3 separate regions of the Homo sapiens genome follow, and regions 2 and 3 are each linked to region 1. The links are contacts of gene promoters, found by promoter capture Hi-C in blood cells and fetal thymus (Javierre and others, 2016). All regions are on one chromosome and are shown on one strand. The core of a region is centred on a gene start or on the middle of the fragment in contact, and the rest is flanking DNA. Distances in the headings are between cores, read along the strand shown. Region 1 holds the start of ALS2 (alsin Rho guanine nucleotide exchange factor ALS2). Region 2 holds the start of SUMO1 (small ubiquitin like modifier 1). Region 3 overlaps STRADB (STE20 related adaptor beta).

Region 1 (4,142 bases), core at 1,145-3,644:
AATTAAATGCAATATGAAAAAGAAACAAGCCAGAGATTGTTGCTATTTTATTGATGACTACCTAACATTTTCTTAAGGACTGACACCCTACAAAACCGAGTACTTTCTTATTACAGACAACAAAATTGTTTGGTCATCAATGAAGGGTTAAGAGAAAAAAATCTGTTAAAACTCTCTACCAGGAAAATTCATATCCTGAATACACTTGAAATACGTGGTAGATTTAATTCCACAAAGTTATAAAAAGAGCTAAATGATTTAAAAGTCACAAATCCTCACAGCATGCCTCTGAGTGAGAAAGGTACCTCATAGTACCCAAAGCGGGCCTTCCTTTATACAAGCTTAAAAATCACCACTCTGCCTTTCTTCCTAGTTTTTCAACTCATACTTTACCTAGTCTCACATTAATAAATAATTGTAGATTTTTACAAGTCAGTCACATTTTTGAGATTATCATTAGAATGGACCCAGCAGCTACTGCTTTAAACCCAGTTTTCATGAAAAGGTAGGAGATTCCACCTAATTACAAAAACACTAACATCAAGACTCATTGAAGTTCTTAGCATACCCTTTGCTTCTTTAACAGTCAAAGTGCCCAAAGTAAGTGTTTCAAATGACAGCCCAAATTCTGAAAAACTGAAATTTGGAGAGAAGGGATTCCTGTTTATATTGAGTACATTTAAAAAGTAAATGGCCTGCATAATGCCACTCAAGTTTTGTTTTTTTCCCAAAATTATCGGTTTGGTATTTCATTTTTCTGGATCATTACAGTTTCAAATTTTAACACTGTTAAACAACTTTGACGTTTTCTTGCTATAATTATGAATTTTAAATCTGCTAATACTGGTCATAGTTTAGAAACTAATAAATTCAAACCATGTATAGATTCTGTCAGTATCTTTTTCACATTAAAATGTCCTTATGGAACACCAAAATTACTACAGAACAACTTGAAATCATATTTTATAGCTACTTCCTTAAAATATTCAGTTCCCTTCCCCATCACTTAAGAAAAGAGTCAGTTTGGATCATGATGTAGTGGGAGGAATTAATTATAAAAACAGCTAATATGTATTGAATATTTACCATAAAACAGGCACTGTAATAAATACGATACATGAACCATTACACGTAAAGGTACTGTTATCAGGAAAACATTTTTATCCCCAATTTAGAGACAAGAGAACTGAGGCAGAGAGATTAAATAACTTGCCCAAAATCAAAGATGTAAATGGATGTGACTCTGGGTATGTTCAGATACAAAGCCTAGAATCTTAACCACTATGCTTATGTTATCAAGGTTAAAACACCGTAGTTTACTGCAAAAAATTTTTCACTGCTTTAAATTATTCATTAACTCAAAGGTCAACCGGTCACTCCAAATCATATGATAAATGGGGGGGAAAATGTGGGACCAATAGGTTTGCTGAAGTTTTGTACCTGCTCAGAATAAACATATCACACAATTTTATTCCATATAGCCAAATATAAGGGTAACTGAGTAAAGATCTTCACTTGGGTACAGCAGTCAGTTCCTTCTCCATCCTAAACCAGAAAGAAAGCACTGTTCTTGGATATGCCACTTCAACAAGAGTGTTTTTTCTCTTCCACCATCAAAGCCTTAAGCAATAGAACGATTCTACCAGTCTACTGTTGCCTGTCTCCAAAGCAGCCCTATTATCCGAGGACGAACACCAGCGTCAAGGACCTGTGTTATTTTTCTGGCTTCGCTTCTCAAAATAACTTATCTTCTCCTCTTGATGAATTACTTGATAGGCTCAAAGACTTGCCTAAACTACTAATTCTTATTATCAAAGCTATTTTCTTTCTCCGCAACCGCCTTTTCAAGTAGCCCTTGGTCCACTCTTCAACGCGATTTGCACCCTGTGGCAAGGCCGCCAGGGACACTCAGCAGGGTTCCAGGCCACGGACCCCAGTTTATCAGCTCAGCGCCTAGTGTGGGCATTCAAGAAATTCTCGTGAATGAATAGCTGGAAGGCAGCGTGGGTGGAGGCGGGAAGAGGGGGCTTGAAGGAATTTCACGCAGCTGAGACCACTGCAGCGGCGCCCAGTCTGGGGAGGGAGAGACCGGGGCAAGTGGGAGAACCTGGGGCCAAGGCAGGGGCCGCCTCGGGCGCTGCTGGACCGGCAGGAGCAGTCGATCGCACCCAGAGCTGGGAAAATGCGGGCGCCGTCTCCGCAGGCCCCCCGCAGGGCGCTCTCCGGCCTCGACCACAGCCTCCGCCTAGCTCCCTGTCCCCGGCCTTCCGCATACAAGGGGTCCCAGCCGATAAGCCCTCCTTAGCCAATAGCCAACCCGGGACCCACACTCGCTCACCTGAAGCTCCACCGGCAGCACCGCGCTCCGCATCCGGCGCGAGCTTGGCAACCCAGTGGGTCCGCGGGATCAGCTGATTCATGGAGGGCGGGGCCTCCGGACAGGGCGGGGCTGCAGGGCGACTAGCGAAGGTAAACGAGGGCGCGGGCGGCTCTTGGAATCCGAGCTCCTGGGAATTGTTCTTGGGAGACTGTCGACGGCGTCTGTTGGGGGTCAAAATTGCTGAGAATGCGTTAGGCACTGCAGGCTACGTACTTGGGAGCACAGTCTCTCCCTTAGTTTAGGGCGGAGCTATCAGTCCTGAGATGCGCTTTGATGATGACGTAGAATAGAGTCGTCCAAGCCTAGCTACCCGAGCGCTCCCATGGTAACAGGCGGTGGTGAAAGTGGTTGGGAGCAGCAGTCGTTTGTTACCACCTCAAACTGCAAGGGCCGGAAGTATAAAAGTAAAAAGGCTGAAATATTTTCAAATTGCCTTTATGGACAGTACCCTAACAGTGGTCGCTTCTCCCCCCTACTCCCGCGAATGACGTCATCGCCTCGCGGCCCCGTTTCGCCATTGTATCCTCAATGTGTAAACTTACTGGTTAGTTGCAACCCCAAAAGATGGGGTGGGATAGGAGAAAATGAAGTGGCCTCTCCAGTGATTCCCGTAGTACTCCCCAATATACAATCAGTAAAATCAGCTTTCTTGTCCCGCGCACAGTTTCATAACACTGTTTTTCGCAGCCACAGTCCCACCCCACCCAGCCTGCACTCTCAAGTCCTCCCATGATTTTATGATTTTCCAGAGCTGCCACTCATGTCGCACAGTGGGTGCAAACCTTCTGCTGCTAGGCATTGTGCCATCGCTGGACCTGCAAACATGCAAATATTTAGACCATCAACGACAGATGTGTAGTCGGGTTCTGAAACTCCTATATCCTATTCACCAACACCCTCAACTCAATTTCCTCCCTGATCCTTCGCCCACCTGCAAAACTGTTAGTCTGCAACAGTTCAACCAACCTTGCTCACTCCTGCATCGGTGCAGAAAATCACACAACCCTGAGAATTGGCACCACTGCGAACGAAAAGTGTCCAACTTCAGTCGGGACTTCCACGTGCGACTACGCAATATTGCTGAGCCTAAGACAGTCACATTTACACATTGCTACTCAGATTATCTCCTATTCCCCTCCCCTGCTGTTCCCAGCCCTCACGCTCTTCTAACCTCTTACTGAACTCTACTCACTCACCCGCTTTGGTAAAAATAAAAATAAAAAATTTTGTCTCTTACATCTCTGAGGAAAGTGAGACCACTAGAGGTGAATTTCCTTAAATCCCAAATCCCATCAGCCACTACCACAAAACCTACCTGCAACCAGTTTTGATTTGTTTTGTTTTGTTTAGAGGGAGTCTCGATCTGTCGCCCAGGCTGGAGTGCAGTGGCGCGATCTCGGCTCACTGCAACCTCCGCCTCCCAGGTTCAAGCGATTCTCCTGCCTCAGCCTCCCAAATAGCTGGGATTACAGGTGCCCGCCACTACGCCCGGCTAATTTTTGTGTTTGTAGTAGAGATGGGATTTCACCATGTTGGCCAGCCTGGTCTCGAACTCCTGACCTCAATTGATCCACGTGCCTCAGCCTCCCAAGGTGCTAGGATTACAGGCGCGAGCCACCGAGCCCCGGCTCCTTTTCACCGAGTCCTTTTCTTCTCCCTCTTTCTTCTTAGAAGATCCTGAACTCAGGATCCCTAATCTCCCCAAAGGAAAGACTTTGTTCTGTTGATGAAAAAAGACAAACTTTATAAAATATTTGAAGAG
Region 2 (4,142 bases), core at 827-3,326, 460 kb after region 1:
TGCACAAATACTCACAAAACACTCCATACAATGTAAGCGAACTTTCAGTCTTTATGGTCTATGGGCCTTAGGTTTAGAACTTATTTTAAAGGATTATTTAATAATGGTACACAAATCTACTAGATGATGTTGGAATTGTTAAAATTATAAAGAAGTGGGTTTTTTTGTGTTTTTTTTTTTTTTGCCAGGCACGGCACCTCACGCCTGTAATCCCAGCACTTTGGGAGGCCGAGGCGGGCGGATCACAAGGTCAGGAGTTCGAGACAGCCTGGCCAATATGGTGAAACCCTGTCTCTACCAAAAATACAAAAAAATTAGCTGGGCATGGTGGCTAATTTTTTGTGACTCCGTCTCAAAAAAAAAAAAAAAAAAAAGTTTTTTGTTTTTTTTCCTTTTCTTTTTTTTTTTTTTTTTTTTTTGGGACAGAGTCTTGCTCTGTCGCCCAGGCTGGAATGCAGTGGCATGATCTCCGCTCACTGCAACCTCCACCTCCCAAGCTCAAGCGATCCTCTCGCCTCAGACTCCCAAGTAGCTGGGATTACAGGCATGAGCCACCAGGCCCAGCTAATTTTTGTATTTTTAGTAAAGACGTGCTTTCCTCATGTTGGCCAAGCTGGTCTCAAAGTCCTGGCCTCAAGTGATCCCAAAGTGGTGGGATTACAGGCGTAAGCCACCCTACTCAGCCATTAAGAAGTGTTTCACTCAAATTCCAAAAACAATCATTTTTTCATTAATCAATGGAGGACCCAGCAATTGAAGTCTTGTGTGTATTTAATGTCCACCGATTTTAACCTTGTTATTACTCAATTTCACTATTTTAACACCAGACAATAACCTTCTGAGAGCTGCCTCAGAAAACACATCACTCTAAAATAACTTGATTCAAATTAAGGTTGTCTTCTTAGGACAGTGGTTTAGTCTCATGCTGATATTAAACAGTACAGGATTTGGAGATTCTTGTTCTCACTTATAAACCTCTTAAGATTAAGGGTTCAGCTTTATAACTCTTTTAAGTCTTTAGCACTCAACACTGAACTTGTACTGGGTCTTCTTTGTTTTGAGTCAGGGTCTCTATCGCCCAGGCTGAAGTACAGTGGCATGATCTTGGCTTGCTGCAACCTCGACCTCGCAGGCTCAGGTGATCCTCCCATATCAACCTCCTGAGTAGCTGGGACTACAGGTACAGGCCATCATGCCTGGCTAATTTTATTTTTTGTAGAGACGACGTCTCTCTATATTGCCCAGGCTGGTCTCAAACTGGGCTCAAGCAATCCTCCCCCACTTAGGCCTCCCAAAGTGCCAGGATTACAGGTGTGAGGCGCTGCACCCGGCCAATGTACTGAGTCTTTTTTTTTTTTTTAAACGGAGTCTCACTCTGTCGCCCAGGCTGGAGTGCAGTGGAGTGATCTCCAGTTACTGCAACCTCCGCCTCCCGGGTTTAAGCAGTTCTCCTGCCTCAGCCTTCTGAGTAGCTGGGATTACAGGTGCGCACCACCACGCCTGGCTATTTTTTGTATTTTTAGTAGAGACGGGGTTTCACCATGTTAGTCAGGCTGGTCTAGAACTCCTGACCTCGTGATCCACCCAACTTGACCTCCCAAAGTGCTGGGATTACAGGCTTAAGCCACTGCACCCGGCGAGTCCTAATGATGTTGGTCAATCAGCCTACAGCAACAGTTCTCAAACTTTTTGTTCTCAGGAATCTTACACTTAAATTTATTTAGAATCCCATAAAGCTTTTGTTAGGTTGGTTACATCTATTGATGTTTACAGTATTAAACACTGAAAACTGAGAAATGTCTTAAATATTAATTCATTTTAAAATACCAACAAACCTGTTATATGTTAACAAATATATATTTTTATTAAAAATATTTTTCAAAACAAAATTAATGAAAGAGTGGGACTGTTACACATTTTTGCAAATCTCTTTAATGTCTGGCTTAATAAAAACAGCTAAACAGCTGGATTTTCACATCTGCTTCCACATTTAATTTGTTTTATCACAAGTCATGTTAGTTTCTAGAAACGTCCATTGAACACTCATGAAAGAATGACAGTGAAAAAGACAAATAATGTCCTAGTATGAACATGAAATAAAAGAATCTATTTGTATCCTAGGTCCTTCATTTCTTTATGTATCTCTTAAATAACCTGACTTCAAAATGGAGCAATAAATTCTACATTTTATAATTATTTCTTTATGTTGCTCTTCCATCAGTCTACAATAAATTTCAAAATGCTTCCTAGACGCTTCTGGGAAACAAAATAAAAGGCTGACGAAACTAAGCATTTACGCCTATACTTTTCTTCCTAGTAACCAAGTAAACAACTACCTAGGGAAACACAATGCCCACTTGGGAATTAATCTAGATTATTAGTAAGTAGATCCATCCAAAATTCATCTAGATTATGGTTAAGCTTTAAAATGTTAAGTGTACATTTTGTACAATAGTACCAATCTGCAAAAACCTCACTTGCTCTCACGAAATGGTACAAAACTGGGTTAAAAGCCAAGGGAATAGGTGTGTTAAATTTAAAAGTTCAAGTACATCGTGGAGTTGAATGAAAAATAGTTTTCTGAATAACTACCATTAAATGAGTAAAAGTCCAAAAATAATGTAAAAAGTCAAAGTCGGCTGGGCGCGGTGGCTCACGCCCGTAATCCCAGCACTTTGGGAGGCCGAGGTGGGCGGATCACGAGGTAAGGAGATCGAGACCAGCCTGGCCAATATGGTGAAACCCCGTCTCTACTAAAAATACAAAAATTAGCTAGGTGTGGTGGTGAGTGCCTGGTGGTGAGTGCCTGTAATCCCAGCTACTCGGGAGGCTGAGGCCCGAAAATTGCTTGAACCCAGGAGGCGGGAGGGTGCAGTGAGTGGAGATCGCACCACTGCACTCCAGCCTGGCGACACAGCGAGACTCCGTCTCAAAAAAAAAAAAAAGTCAAAGTCGTCTGAGCAAACAAAAGACCAGACAAAAACTTTATGAATTAAAAACTAGCCATAAAGTTGTTTAATTAGAACAGGATGAGGAAGAAAAGGGGAAATCGATCACTCCTGATTAAGTGCAAATCCCAAGTAAATTATTGATACTAACAGTGAGCTGGAGCACTTTGCCTTACCAGGCAACTTTCTGCAAATATTCTGCAACGACTCTACATACACAAAGTTTTCCTATGCTTTTCCTCAAAAATATGAGACTTCCTCAGGTTAATGCCCAGGTGAGATGCTTTTTGTTGCTCTAGCAGTTTAGTTCTATTTTCTTTCTTGGTTATTATGAATGCTCTCTTACAACTGGAGAGCTAGGATGAACCAATCCCGAGTAAGAAACGGGAAAGTACAGTAAAGAGGCGACAGCTCTGCACCCCCACACGGAAAAAGACTCAGAGGAGAGCAGCGGCATCCTTGCCCTAGCTCCAATCCGAACGGAGGCAGGATTCCCAACAACATCGGACGTCTCCCTCCCTCGCCGCCCCACGCCCTCCCGACGAAGAAGCAAAAAGTGGAGAGTCCAGCCGCTTCTCAGGGCCACGGAGCCTCCCAGTCAGGGATTCTCTCCCGTTACATAACTAAGGCCTAGGGCCCTGCTTCTGCGATTAGTCCTCTGGAAGGAGACGGACGGGTTCTCCAGAGACCCTCCCAGGGAGGTGGAAGCGGGGCTCTGCACCTAGTCGACCCGGGAGAAAGAAGTGGGACGACATGAGGGAGGCCGCCACCAAAGGCGGTGGGGTACGGGGGTGATGAGCGAGCCCGGAGAGGGGCGGGCGGCTCCGGGAGCCCCGCAGCAGGCCCCGGCACCTCCGGCCGTAGTCGGCTCCTCTCCCTCGCCTGCCTAGTCCCCACCGGCCGCCCCCTCCCCCATTCCGCGCTCCCCTCCCCCGCGCCTCCATCCCCGACCCCAGCCTAGCGGCAGGCAGACCTGCAGGGAAGGCCCTGGCCACCGCCGTTGGATGGCTCCCAGCCCGGTACCTGGTCAGACATGATGACGGTGGCTTCACCCGGGGGTCTCCGCACAGCAGCGGCCTCGGGTAAGCAGAACCTCGCTCCGGGGTTTACAAATCCTTCTCCCTTCCCCACAGCACAACACCGCGGCTGCAGTAACTTCCGCTACGCCTCGCGTCACTTCCGCTTCGCGCAGGG
Region 3 (4,142 bases), core at 135-2,634, 330 kb before region 1:
GCTGGGTGCAGCTGCTGCCTTGACCTCAAAATGTCTTGTAAAATTATCTCTTAATAGTCTGGTGTATCTAAGGCAAAAATCTCTGAGATTAAACCACCCCATAGGGACAACCCTTTTATTACTAACAATTCTTACCAGATTGTGTCTGTTTCTTCTGAGCTTTTCTGAAAAAGAGAAAAAAATAGACAACGTAATGGAGTTTCACATTATTAAGACAAAATCAGTAACAACTTGCTGACATTGAGTGAAAAAAGCAGGATACAAAATCATGATAACCAGAAAATTTGGTTAATCATGACATCCATAACCCTTCTGCTTGTGGGAAGGTCAGCTACAAGTGGCCAGGGTCTTGTCTGCCCTGATTACCAGCGGGTGTCCACAGTGCCTGACCCATGGTAACCACTCATTAAACACTTGTGTAATGATTACTTGGCTGTTAACAGATTAACAGTGTATTGACTATGATGTGTAGTTTCTTCATTTACTTGGATATCTCCTTAGAATAGATCACTCCGGGGAATTTTACTGGGTCAAAAAGTATGAATATTTTCATGGTTATTGAAACATTTGACAACCTGCTTTCCAAATAAACCTTATAGTTTTGTACTGCCATCAGTACATTTGAGTGTACCTTTCAAAGCATAGTTCAAGCTGATACAGTGTTTGCTAATTAGGGGCACTTTGAGATGTAACTCATTTGATTTCATTCACCCTGGAAGGTTGGCAGGGCAGGCATTGCTTTCCTCCTTTTGCAGCACAGCAAACTCCAGTGCTTTAAATTGACGGTAATGAATGGTAGGTGGCTAAATGATCACAGCCTTTCAGGTCCGTCTTCCTCCCAATCTCTACCTTTGGTTCATAGTGAACATCCTGAATAAATTCACCTCTTTCTTTAGCAATAAAATTGGATATTGCTTTATGGTTTTTATGGTTTACAAAATCTTCCCTTTCTCATCCTGCTCACATATTTGTAGATGGGTTCATCAAATTTGGGGAGTTGAAATAATGAAGCACAATTTAGATGAAAGAGATGATGTTGGTTAGATGTAAAGGGATGCTCTGAACCCACAAACTTACAAGATTGCCACCCTTTCTATTAGTAAAGGTCTGGAAACCGTGGATGGTGCTTTTGTATCTCCTTGAATTAATTTCCTAGTCTGTTATTCTGATTCTTTCCCATATTTGCTGGTCAGGGACCCCAAATGATTTAATACGTAATTAATCCAATAAGAAAGGGCTTTGGAAAGTCTCAAAGTTTAGTTGTAATATGTGGAACCATTGAAAATTCTTGGGGTTTATTGTAAGTGACACTGTTTATATCAAAAGTGGGCCAAAAATTGGTTTTCTACATTGCTTTCAAATTTGCTCAGCGTTCTTTAAAAAACAAACAAAAAACAGTATAGAAAAGATAGGGAAGGAGAAATGCAAACATATTGAGGCTTTGGAAATATTCAGGACTTCTTTTTGTTTTCACTCTGCTTCTTGGTTGTGATGTCAGATCACAAATAATGTTCAGTAAAAAATAAATGCTCTTTAAAGATACTTTTCAGGAATGTCTCCTTGTGTCAAGGAGTAGCTGCCTAAATATTGGGTATCAGGGAATAGCTGCCTAAATATTGGATGGGTTTAAGGCAACTGGTTCTTTAAGGAACTTTTATGTGAATCTAAATTATTTTGCTTTTGTTTTTTATAGTAGGATATATCTGCATCTTGAAAGGAAGATAAAACAAAAGCCTTCTTTGGAATAGATGGATTTTTGTCACTTTCTGTGTGAACTAAAGTGATTCAATGTCTCTTTTGGTAAGTTTTTGTAAATATAGATCTGATTTTGTTCTGTCAGAGTAGTTGGATGTTAATGCCAAGCCATAATAAAAGGCATATTCTGATGGGATATTCTTATGCTCTGAGATATTGTTTTGACCTGATTGACTTCTGGACTTGAGAAATGAATTACATTCTCATTGAGTTTTTCTTTCTTTCATAAAGAACTTCTCGTATACTTCAATATGTTCATTATTCTAATCTTTTGTCCCATATCTACTTTTTCTCATAGGTGTTATACTTTGATATGCCACCCACACCAGTTAGCTATGCCTTATCTTTTAAATCTTTCAGAAATTCCTTTTACAAATTTCCATCTGACCAAAAGCAAGCCAAACAGTATTAAAAATAACCCCTTTGACTTAACCGAAATAAAATCATTTGGATCAATGTATATATGAGGTATAGCTGCCAACTGGTTTTCTATTTATATTTAGATCCGTGGTATCTACTTTAGATTAAGTAGCTTGAGGACTTTCATCCTGTTTTATACATAATAATAATATTTGAATAGGGAATACTTATATTAAAATGTGGTTTTTAAAAAAGTAATGAGTAGACCACGTGTAGTGGCTCACACCTGTAATCCCAGCATTTTTAGGGGCCAAGGCTAGAGAATCAGTTGAACCCAGGAGTTCAACACCAGCCTAGGCAACATAGTGAGATCCTGTCTGTATAAAATATTAGCCAGACGTAGTGTCATATGCCTGTAGTCTCAGCTACTCAGAGGGTTAAGGTGGGAGGATCCCTTGAACAAGGGATCAAGGCTGCAGTGAACTGTGATCATGCCATTGCATTCCAGCCTGGGTGATAGAGGGAGATCCTGTCTCAAAAAAAAAAAAGGATGAGTATATTTGTATGATGATTTATAGTTTACAAATACTTTCATATATTTCTTTCATAGTTTCAAATTGTGTAAGTTTAGCAGGGCAGGTGGCATTATCCTCATTTTCAGTTTGTCCAAGATTGCAAAAAGTTGGAGCCAGACTCATACCTGCCAATCTATTCTATCAATTACCAAGGCTGAGAGGCAGAACTATGAAGTTAGAAGACTGGATTGTTAGTAATATGGAAAATACATAACACAGTTACTTACATGTTTAAAGTAAAGCATTACCACTTGAAAGAGAAGCTTTATATATCTGGAAAATACACGGAGGTGAAATGTTTTATTCTGTAAAGGAGGGATCAGCAAGCTTTTCTGTAAAGGCCAGATAGTATTTACAGACCCTTTGGTCTTTGTTACAGCTACTTTTCTGCTGAAATACTAGCATGAAAGCAGCCATAGGCAATATATAAATGAATGAATGAATGTATCTGTGTTCCAGTAAAACTTTACTCACAAAAACAGGTGGTGGGTCAGATTTGGCTCATGGACCATAGTTTGCCGACCCTTACTCTAAAGGATTACTTAAGATTTACAATTTTATATCAATTTTTAAGTTGGAAAAGATGTGAAAGGGCATTCAGTCTATTCCCTTCATTTGATAGGCGAGAATTGTGAGATTCAAAGGGCTGTGTGTTGCCCAGGGCTTTCAAATTTTGGAAAAAGAATATCTTAGCCTATTATTCCATAATTATGGGTTTTGTGAAAAATAATAGAATGTGATAATGGGTGATTTATATCGTTAATGATTGTAACTTTAAATCACATTTTTCTGCAATGGTGAAATATTTTAAATTCTTTGAATCGAAATATTTACTTTTTTTCCTTAAACGAGAAATTTGTGCAGTTGGGATAAAGTTGATACTTTTACTTAAGGATTCCTCCCCATTCAAGTTTTACCCTCTATTTGAGAACTAAGAAATGCTGTTTTCAAAGGAGCAGCATATGTAAAAATATCTTCTTTCAGTTTCTTTGTAAGGTCTAACTACTTTTTACTTGGCTATTATGATAATGGATAAAGAAATTATATTCAAAAATATTCAAAGGGAAAAGGTATGTGGGGTGAAGTTCAGAGGAAACCAGGCACAAGCTTTCAAGAATCTTTTCTCAGTGGAGTTCCATAGTATATGCACAGTTCCCCCAGAGTTGTGACATGTGAAATGTTGTCTACTAGGGAAGCTCATTAGAGACTTGGACTTAAGGTTTTTATTGGGGACTTGTCACGTAGGCGTGCTCTGCTAGCAAGTAACAAAATTCCAGTCTCCCAGAAAAAAAGCCAGGTGTTCAGCATAAACTGTATTATTTGCACAAACAGTTTAGACACAGTGAGCGATTCTTATGAAGGGAACCTCTGCAAAATCCCAGTTCCCAGATACTAGCCAAGGGTCAACCTTATAAGCAGCTATTTTCTAAGAATAGCAGTTTTAGGCCTGCT

Evidence for each region. Contacts are between HindIII fragments. The CHiCAGO score rates a contact against its expected background, and 5 or more counts as called.
Region 2: a fragment that was not itself captured here is called in contact with the fragment with the promoter of ALS2 in region 1 in 2 of 17 cell types (erythroblasts and fetal thymus); the score reaches 7.6 in erythroblasts.
Region 3: a fragment that was not itself captured here is called in contact with the fragment with the promoter of ALS2 in region 1 in 1 of 17 cell types (naive B cells); the score reaches 5.2 in naive B cells.

What each region holds. Positions count from the first base shown.
Region 1 is chr2:201,778,539-201,782,680 of GRCh38, forward strand. It overlaps ALS2 (alsin Rho guanine nucleotide exchange factor ALS2), which reads right to left and starts at 2,395. Exons shown (of 34, transcript NM_020919.4): 1 at 2,339-2,395. RefSeq lists a silencer at 2,065-2,234 and enhancers at 2,365-2,434, 2,445-2,674, 2,685-2,754. The HindIII fragment of the contact is 4,023 bases long and covers 340-4,142 here.
Region 2 is chr2:202,234,469-202,238,610 of GRCh38, forward strand. It overlaps SUMO1 (small ubiquitin like modifier 1), which reads right to left and starts at 4,129. Exons shown (of 5, transcript NM_003352.8): 1 at 3,972-4,129. The coding sequence starts at 3,983. RefSeq lists a silencer at 3,594-3,783. The HindIII fragment of the contact is 685 bases long and covers 1,735-2,419 here.
Region 3 is chr2:201,453,053-201,457,194 of GRCh38, forward strand. STRADB (STE20 related adaptor beta) reads left to right here. Exons shown (of 12, transcript NM_018571.6): 2 at 1,694-1,800. The coding sequence starts at 1,789. Among named protein-coding and RNA genes, the nearest start is that of STRADB, 3.4 kb to the left of the region's middle. The HindIII fragment of the contact is 3,133 bases long and covers 1-2,951 here.